3 separate regions of the Homo sapiens genome follow, and regions 2 and 3 are each linked to region 1. The links are contacts of gene promoters, found by promoter capture Hi-C in blood cells and fetal thymus (Javierre and others, 2016). All regions are on one chromosome and are shown on one strand. Each heading gives the region's core, a stretch centred on a gene start or on the middle of the fragment in contact. The rest is flanking DNA. Distances are from core to core; before and after follow the strand shown.

What was found. The method cuts DNA at HindIII sites, captures the fragments that hold promoters and counts their contacts. A CHiCAGO score of 5 or more calls a contact.
Region 2: the fragment with the promoter of WDR38 here is called in contact with the fragment with the promoter of GAPVD1 in region 1 in 1 of 17 cell types (fetal thymus); the score reaches 6.5 in fetal thymus.
Region 3: a contact is called between a fragment that was not itself captured here and the fragment with the promoter of GAPVD1 in region 1, in 1 of 17 cell types (fetal thymus). The highest score is 6.9, in fetal thymus.

Annotation. Positions count from the first base shown.
Region 1 is chr9:125,260,095-125,263,290 of GRCh38, reverse strand. GAPVD1 (GTPase activating protein and VPS9 domains 1) reads right to left here and starts at 1,465. Exons shown (of 28, transcript NM_001282680.3): 1 at 1,332-1,465. RefSeq lists silencers at 1,319-1,448, 1,387-1,568. The HindIII fragment of the contact is 7,780 bases long and covers 924-3,196 here.
Region 2 is chr9:124,851,690-124,854,885 of GRCh38, reverse strand. It overlaps WDR38 (WD repeat domain 38), which reads right to left and starts at 1,426. Exons shown (of 9, transcript NM_001045476.3): 1 at 1,286-1,426; 2 at 561-681. The coding sequence starts at 1,354. RefSeq lists a silencer at 1,325-1,374. The HindIII fragment of the contact is 17,878 bases long and covers 1-2,159 here.
Region 3 is chr9:124,870,063-124,873,258 of GRCh38, reverse strand. All of the region lies in intron 3 of ARPC5L (actin related protein 2/3 complex subunit 5 like), which reads right to left. Among named protein-coding and RNA genes, the nearest start is that of ARPC5L, 9.5 kb to the right of the region's middle. RefSeq lists enhancers at 298-527, 225-725, 2,364-2,413, 2,874-3,196. The HindIII fragment of the contact is 2,332 bases long and covers 323-2,654 here.

The DNA.
Region 1 (3,196 bases), core at 216-2,715:
TTTTAGTAGAGATGGGGTTTCACCATGTTGGCCAGGATGGTCTCGATCTCTTGACCTCAATGATCCGCCCGCCTCGGCCTCCCAAATTATTTCAGGAGTTCTTAATCTTTTTGTGCACGGACCTCATTGGCAGTTTGGTGAAGCCTATGGTCCCTTTCTCAGATTTCTTTTAAGTGCATAATTAAATACATGTGATTACAAGGGAAACCAATTATATGGAAATATTAGCAAAACAACAAACTAATATGGTCATAATATATGTACAGCCTTATTATCACATTAAATAACAATGTCTAACGGCGGGTCTAGTAACACCAGAAATTCAAAGAAGTGTTAACCATAAATGATATTCTGAGCTATCTGCAACTGTAAACATGATGCAAAAATATCCGTAATTTTTATTGATCACAAAGTCATAGGCGCTGCTAATGCTACTCTGGCTTGTTGTCCACATTCGTAACTGAAGGAAATAATAAGTTTCAGTTAGCAGTCAATAAAAATAATGATGTCATTTTATCCTCCTTCTAGTGAAAGGACCCTTCTAATTCTATCCATCAATGAACTCCAGTTTAAAACCCCTCTCTAGTTCAAAGTCCTGCTCAGAACTGATTTTCGTCATAAATTTAAAAATAAAAACACTGATTCCTCCTTTGACCTAGTTCTCATCTGAACCTATCACTATGTCTCCCTGTTTTTATGCACATTTATACACAGAACCCTGGGTGTACTTCTGTGGTTTGCCTAGCCAGCACTCACTACAATTTTGCCAGTCAATAAAAGGTGAAGTTAAAAGAAAAGGGATGGAAACAACCAACAGCTCCCTCACTTTCAGACCTCCGACAGCAAGTGGAAAGATGCCAAGTACAGTGAGTGTCTGTGTTAGGTGGGCTGCCCCCAGACCCGTGTGTCCAGCTTGTCAAGCTTCCCTGCAGCACGATATCTTTATCAGCGACACTCAGAAGACATTCCATTTCGTTCTCGCCTCCTATACTCAGTTCCCTACCTGCCGGGCCTCTCGTCTCTGGCCCCCACCCGAGGCCGCCCCGCGGTCCTCCTGTCCCTTCCCATCCCATCCCCCACGCGTCTCTCCCTCTCCTCAGCCCCAGGCCGCCCTGGCTCCTGCGCGCCGCCACATCTCTCCCCTGGGTCTAACCCAGTGTCCCCCGACCCCCACCTCGCCCGACACTGACGGGAAGAGCCCAGGACCCCGGGGTCAGTTGGACCTGACGGCCGGGCAGTCAGAGACAGGCTGCGGCCCTAGGCCGGAGCAACCCGGCCGCGAGGCAGGGAGCCGCTCACAGCCCGCGGACTAAATCGGGACGCGTACTCACCAAGGGGGTCATGCGGGGGAGGACACGGAGGACTCTGTCGGACCGCCACTCGGCCTCGGAGCCGTCGCCCTAGCCGGTGACTGCCCCCGCCGCCGCTGCCGCCACCTTCGCCACTCGCCTGTTGGCTTCCCTGCGTCCTGCAGCGGCGCTGCCGCCACGCCAGCGCGCGTGCGCAGCGCCGCGGGGGCCTCTGGGAGCTGTAGTTCCGCCCGGGCGGCTAGGGGCTCCCACTTCCGCCTTAGGCAGCCCTAGGTCAGCTGCCCCCTGAGGCTGTCGTGGGTGTCCGGGTCCGGAATCGTCTTCCGGAAGGCTGTTCACCAGGCCTGGGCCCTGGTTTCCGCCTGCAGTAATGCTGGACGTGAAGAATCCGACTGAGCAAGTATGTGTAAAGCAAAAATGTAGAGCGTTTTATGCTTTCTGTGACAACGCTCAGTTGCCCAGGACACATTATTCGCATGAATGACTCTCTCTCTTCTCTGTTTCTCTCTCACACGTACGCACACACTACTTACAAACCTCCCTTCCCTTTTTTTTTTTTTTTCGAGACGGAGTCTGGCTCTGTCGCCCAGGCTGGAGTGCAGTGGCTCAATCTCGGCTCACTGCAAGCTCCGCCTCCCGGGTTCACGCCATTCTCCCGCCTCAGCCTCCCAAGTAGCTGGAACTACAAGCGCCCGCCACCACGCCCGGCTAATTTTTTGATTTTTAGTAGAGACGAGGTTTCACCGTGTTAGCCAGGATGGTCTCGATCTCCTGACCTCGTGATCCGCCCGCCTCGGCCTCCCAAAGTGCTGGGATTACAGGCGTGAGCCACCGCTGCCGGCCCCTCCCTTCCCTTTTGTTCTAAGTGCCATTAATTGGTTTGGATGGTATCTGGATTTTCAGTGTAAAACCTGCCTTCCCACTTCTCAGTTTCTAAAATCTTGCTTATCATAAACTTCACCATGCAGTTATTTTAGGTAAGTCAATAAATGAACTGTCTAATAATTTTTGTAACACCATAACTCATATATTCAGAGGTCAAGTTAGCTGAGTTGAACAGTCTAGAAACCTTAAAATTGGAAGATACCTGCTTAAAGGTCACTAGTGCAACTGTTGCCCAGGCAGGAATTCCCTCCTGTACATTCAGCCAGATGGTCATCTTCCTGTTCAACAGTTCAAATTTCAGGGAGCTCACTCCCTCAAGTAATGCAGCCTGCTCCACTGTTGGACAGCTCTAAATGTTAGAAAGTTCTGCCTCCTGCTGAGCTGAAATCTGTTTCCCTTTATTTCCTTCCATTGCTGGTAGTTAGGCTGCCTGGAGCAATACAGAATGTCTTCCACTTGACAGATCTTCAAAAAATTGAGAACAATGATTATATCCTCCAATACTGGGAGTCTCCAGGCAAAAAAAGGAAAAAAGTAATAATCATTTCCCCAGCTATTTCAAATGTCAATCAACTCCCAAACTGCTTTCTATCTACTCACCTCTCTTGATGTCACCTTTAGGGGCATGGTGGCATATGCCTATAATCCTAGCACTTTGCGAGGCCAAGGCAGGAGGATTGCTTGAGCCCAGAAGTTCAAGACCAGCCTGAGCAACATAGTGAAACCCCAACTCTACAAAAAATACAAAAATCAGCGAGGCATGGTGGCTTGCACCTGTAGTCCCAGCTACTAGGGAGGCTGAAGTGGGAGGATCACCAAGCCCAAAAAGGTCAAGGCTGCAGTGAGCTGTGATCATGCCACTGAACTCCATCCTGGGCAGCAGAGTGAAACCTGTCTCAAAACAAAACAGCAACAACAACATTGACAGAATTGCTTCATATTTATTGCCTTGTTTTATGACTACATAGGTAGTAATAGAACCACCTATGGTAGGCTGGTCA
Region 2 (3,196 bases), core at 177-2,676, 410 kb after region 1:
ACACTTAAAAATGGACACAACAAAGCCGGTGCAGTGGCTCACGCCTTTAATCCCAGCACTTTGGGAGGCCGAGGTGGGTGGATCACGAGGTCAGGAGTTCAAGACCAGCCTGGCCAAGATGGTGAAACCCCGTCTCTACTAAAGATACAAAAAAATTAGCTGGGTGTGGTAGCAGGTGTCTATAATTCCAGCTACTCGAGAGGCTGAGGCAGAGAATTGCTTGAACCCAGGAGGCGGGGGTTGCAGTGAGCCGAGGTTGTCCAGCCTGGGTGACAGAGAGCGACTCTGTCACACACAAAAAAGGATGCAACAGTAAGTATTACTGTGTTACATTACAGTTGTTTTTGTATGTATGTGTGTGTGTGTGTGTGTTTTTAAAGAAGGCTGAGTCCAGGCCTGTTAGAGTCTAAGCCCCAGCACCCAGATATCTCGTCCCATCTCCCAACCTGCCCAGCCCTGCCTTGCACCCGTGCCCAGCTCATCGGAGGTCACTGCAGTCAGCTCTGCAGCATGCCAGACCCTTGTGCCTCGGTCTTCCCGGCCAGGTGTGGGAGCCCCACCTGTGTGGCCACCCAGCCTCCACAGCAGCTGCCCACTCCGGGTCTCCCAGCCATACACGCAGCCATCTTCTGAGCCTGTGAGCAGCATCTGGCCATCAGGGGAGAAGGCAGAAGAGTTGACCTAGAAACAGCACAAAAGCGGTCCCATTCTGGGGAAGAAACCCCTGTCCGCTCATCTCTGACCCCTAAACACTGCCCCCCAAGAGCCTGGGGTTGGAGCTTGACTTCAAGCCTCACTCCACCACCAGAGCCCAGAACCCGGGACCCACTGGGCCCTCTCTCGAGTCCCGTAAAGCCAGAGCCTGCAGTTGGAGGCAAGAGCCTTCTCTGGAACCAGAGCCTGGAACCCCAGAGCTAAGAGCCCATTCCAGAGCCGCAGCTGACAACGGAGAGTCCAGAATCTACTCTAAGTTCTGAGTTCACTTTAGAGCCAGGGCCCCAGAAAACACCAGAGTCAGCAGGGAGCTTTGTGCCCCTCTCGAGGCAGAGCCCAGAGCCCGGGGCTCTTTTTACAGGCAGAGCTTAGAACCTAGAGCTGCTCTGGAGCTGGGGCCCGGCACTGGAGCTGAGAACCTACTTCGATCCTTCTTGGGTTAGCAAAGTCTACTCTGGACTCAATGTCCTGAGCCACTGCCCAGAGAACATTCTGGAACCCCCACTACACAGAACCAGGAACCACTCTGCATCCAAAGCCGGGAGTCTGGGCAGAGCCCGCTGGACCTCACCTCCCCGCCGTGCTGGCCGAAGAATTTCACTCTCCGCACGGCCAGCGTGGCCGGGACCCCGCTGTTCATGGGCACCCGGCCCCGCCCCGCCCCGGCGGGCTCCCTCCTAGGCGGCCGCGGGACCCCAGGACTGGGCAGAGGAAAGAGGAAACTGTGTACAGGCGGTCTCCATGGTAATCGGGGCGGGGCGTGCGGCCATGGTGGGGTCCCTGCGAAGCCACGAGGACTGACAGGCAGGCCAGACCGCTTGCAGTTCGGCGGAGGTGGAGCCGCAGCAGGCGGGACCGCGGCGGGCTGGGAGAAGGGACTTCCCGCGCCAGCGGCTGCGCGTCCACTCTAGGGCAGCTCTCGCGCGGGGCAACACGGCAGGCAGAGCGGCCACTAGAGGGCGCGCCAGCCACACGCACCGCGCGGCCCAGAGCCCGGCCCCGCGCCCTGCGGACTGCGAACTGCAAGGGGTCCCTGCACCTCTTTGATACAGGGGAGCAACGAGCCTGTCTCCCCATCTGCACAACCGGGAGCATCAGCCCTGCCCCACAGGACTCCAGGGGTGAGCCAAGCACAGGGCCTGGCACACGGTAGATGCCCAAGAGGGCCCCCTCAGGAGCCAATACCCCTTCCGTCCAGGAGTGGCCAGTACTGAGGTTAAGGATGTCCCAGGAGAGCGCTGGGGACAGTAGCCAGCTCTGTCCTCCAGGGCGTGGAAGCCAGAGGTAGTGTGTGTAAAGTACATGGCATTAAAAGTGGGGTCACGTTGCTGTTAACATTCCTGGCAGCACAAAATGTGCCATCTGAGGATGGGGTGGAGGCTGGGGCTGGGGGGCAGTTGCCCAGGAGCTGCCAGGATCCTTACCGGATAGCGCAATCTGAAGCTTGGAACGAGCAGGACTTGGTTTCATTGTTAATTTACAGGTGAAGAAACTCACCCGGAGAGCTGGGAGGACTTGCTCAGAGCCACTCAGCCAGTAGGAGTGGAACTGGGATTTCAGCCCATGGCTGTCTGACTCTGGGTGTCTGTACTGGGACCACCTGCCATGAACTCCAGGGACCTCTCAGCAGATGTTGAGGTCCGCAACTCCTGGTACATCTGGGAAACTGAGGTCCGAAGGGGGCAGGACTTGGCCCAGCCATCTAGCCGGTGCTTCCATGGCAGAGCTGGGGCAGGACCCAGTCTCCCCACTCCCACAGCAGGACAGGGAGGGAACAGAGGACCCCCCACCTGCCCCGCCCATGGATTCTAGGCTCCCTGGGGGCAGGGGTGGAGCAGCTGGGCTTTGGGAGCTTCAAACTCAAGAGTTCCCAGCGGCGACTCACACCCTCCCCCCCTAAACCTCTTTGCCAGAAACTTCTCAGGAGATCCGCTGTGCTCCTGCTATTTTAAGTCCCAGACAGTCAGGCGGGTGAGGGAGCGACAATGACAGCTTTGAGGCAGTCCCACTCCATCCCAGATCCCAGAGGGCCTAGGTCACTGTGGGACCCTTCTGAGCTGGGCCTATAAAGCTGTCCCCCCACACCCAGATGTGGCTCCCAGACACAGCTCCCCAGAGCTACTATTCCCTGGCCCTCTGGCTCTCCTGCTCAGGCACCCCCCCAACCCATGCCCCGGCCCTGGGCACATTGTCTAGCCACTTGGTTGCTCCTGCTCTATCCAGAGGGCCCAGAGCCACCTTCCCCAGCCCAGCCCTTCACTCCCAGAACCCTCAGGGTAGACCTTGTCCACCAGGCCCAGTGACTGCTTGGCCGAAGGGGTGGAGCTGGGGTCGAAACCCGTGGGCTTGGCTCAGGCATCTGTAGGTGGAACCACCAACGTGAATGCCAGGGTCCGGAGGATCATCTCCGCGGATGAAGTGGTGGAGAAGTTTCTGCCAGTTTTCCACCACTGACTATCTCTTCCTTCTCCTCAGGGAGCCT
Region 3 (3,196 bases), core at 239-2,738, 390 kb after region 1:
CTTCATCAATTAAACTATTAAGGAAATTAAGATGTGCTAGAACTTCTAAGATCTATCGGGATCAATGAGGTCCCAACTGTTACCTGGAAAGAGTTTATCAATCTAACAGAAGCTTTTGCCAACAATGAGCCAGTCTCCACCCTTACCCCCCAACCTCAGTTGCAATCCTGACAACACATTCTTTGCTGAGTTCTGAATACCCAGCATGCAAAAGAAAATTACAATCTGGGTTAGGTCCCCAAAGGTGACACCTATTTTAAACTGAATTACATCAGCCAACTTTCATTTCCTCGTATGAAACACTGGCTTCAGCCAAAAAGCTTCAAAAATAGAACAAGGAATGGCTTCTGCCCAATCGGGTCTCTACTCCTCTTCATGCAGTGATACCCACGTGCAGACAGGAAGGGCCTTCGGAGCAGAGCTGAATCTCCTGGCTTCCCCAGTATGAGATCCATCTTGAGTGAGCTGGGTCTGCGCCACCAGGCAAGCCACTCCCAGCGCTGGTTCCCCAGCTCCCTGCTTGGCTCTGATCCACCTTCCACACTCAAGAGGCAGTCCAGTCCCTCTGTCTTTCAGTTCTGGAGTTCCTTTTCCCCATCCAAACAAGGCCAGCCTGATATCAGCCACTGATAACCTCTACTTTGTAACTCCTTTTTTTTTTTGAGACGGAGTCTCGCTCTGTCGCCCAGGCTGGAGTGCAGTGGCGCAATATTGCCTCACTGCAAGCTCCGCCTCCCAGGTTCATGCCATTCTCCTGCCTCAGCCTCCTGAGTAGCTGGGACGACAGGCGCCCGCCAGCACGCCCAGCTAATTTTTTTTGTATTTTTAGTAGAGGCGGGGTTTCACTGTGTTAGCCAGGATGGTCTCGATCTCCTGACCTCGTGATCTGTCCGCCTCGGCCTCCCCAAAGTGCTGGGATTACAGGTGTGAGCCACCGCGCCCAGCCCTTGTAACTCTTTTCTAATGTGGTGTCCCCAAAGCAATAAGCAGGATCCCATAGGCTGAACAGAAAACATAGGCTCACTTGCTCTTCATGTAAACCTGGCACAACTAACAAATGACATCATTCAAATGATGGATGGGGAAGGGCAGGTATAAAACTAGTCCACGGGGGCAAAAAGCTACTGCTGTGGCGTTAACTCAGCACCACGCGTCCAGCAATCACTCGGCCCATTGATGGGTGAGGGCCTTCAGCAGTTGGGAGATGTGGGGCGCAGGGAGGACCTCCCTGAAGTCACCTATCATTTGTGAAGCCGGCTGTCATACTTGGCTGGCTTTAGGCCTTTTCAGAGAACAGGCTGTGGTGCTGAGGGAATCCTGCCCAGCCCTTGATCTCCTCTAGATCTTCCTCAATCACGGCACAACTGACACTGTGGACCCAGGATTCTCTGACGTGGGATCTTAGCTGTGTGTCATAGGCCTCTGCCCACTGGATTCCAGTGGCATCCCCAAGCTGTAACCATCAAAATGTCTCCAGTTTCCTGGGGGTGGAGGGGAAGGGTGCAAAATCGCTCACAACCACTGCTCTGGACAGAGCCCTGATCCAGAAGTATAGAAGCTGCTTCACTGAAGGGGAAAGGAACTCATACTTTTAAATCGCCACAAGGTCTCGGATCCTGTGCCAGGTGCTTTCACACGCCATCTCATTCCAAAAATCCTTGTGACAATAATCATTATCTCATTTTAAAGGCAATGGAATTGAGGCTCAGAGAACAGAAATTACCTGCGCAAGGTCACAAAACTAAGCTGTCTACACGGCCCTCACACCCAAGCTCCTCCCACAATCCCATGCTGCCGCTCTATCTGCAGACCCGAGCTGCATGTCCAGGACACTTGCTGTGTGCCCAGTGATGCTGATGTTAGCCCATGAGGCTCCCACGGAATCTAGGAAGCCAGCATGGCTGTCCGCCACGTAACAGAAGATGCTGAGTTGTGAAAGGGTATGCGACCTATCCGAGGTCACAGAGCCAGAGCATGGTAGTGCAGGGTGTGCGCAGATGCACAGCCGGGTTCCTTCTACTCCATCTGTGTCATCTCCTGCCACACACACTTCCCTATACAGCCCCAGGACAGGGCCCCTCTCTGCCCTCCCCAACCCCAATCCATCTATCCCTCTCCCTGCTCCCCTGTCCTCAATGGTCTAATATAAGTCCGATTCTTGGTACATGATAGAGACTCAATAAATATCAGTTCCATTCTCCTCCACCTGGGCCCCGTATTTGCCAGGGTTTCAGTTACCTTTATCCGTTAACCTCCCTTTCCCCAACCCCAAGTGGAGCACTCTCCATGGTAACAAGGTTTCTGACGCTTCTGACGCTGCCATGAATGGAGAAACGACCATCCCCTGGATGTGCTAAGCCCAGGCCTCTAAGCAGCCTCAAGGAACCTGTCACCAGGCAGGGGAGTCCCAAGACATGACCTTCAACAAGGTTCTGCACCCAGACCAAGGCAGCAGCTGACAGGCTTGATCTCATCTGTTCAATGAGAGTCCTGGGCCAAAGGCCTGACCCTGGAGCCCCTTTCAGCACTGACTGTCCATGAACTAGGCCCTACACCAGACTACAACCAACCTTCCCTCCTGGGGACCCTTCCCTTGACCCCATTTCATAAGGAGGGTGGATTGGGAGATCCTGATGGGGCAGGAATTACAAGCTTGAATCTCCACTTCGGAAAACACATTCCTGTTCAAATCAAGTCTGAAGGTTTTCGGTTTAAAGGCACACTCAGGAGCACTGCCGGGCTCCCCCTAAAGCAGCAGGCCCCACTTTCCAAGCTGAGTCAACTGGTTCAACACCGAGAACCTGATTTATGTACAGCATGGGCCTCCAACCCTGCCCCCACCCGTGCGGGGGGAGGGGACAGGCTTCCTGGAACACCATTTGAATAAAGAAAAATCCTTCCGGTGAGAATAAGTCAGTTTCCTGCGCTCATACTGCTAAAGGACCAAGCAAGGCTGTGACAATCACCTCTATTTTTAATCTTTTCTAAATGCTGTTTTCTGTGGCCACAAGAACAGTCATTTCCAGGCGTGGGGCTCCACTTTCACACTTCGCTTCAAGGTGTCTGGTTTTTCTTAGCTCTGAACTACTAGTTTTCTCCGCTGCTTCCTGCACCAGAAGGGTACTGGGGGGAGCCAAGACTCACTTGTTGAGCGTGGCTGAGACCACCAAGGTGTCCAGGGGAACCACAGGGTCCC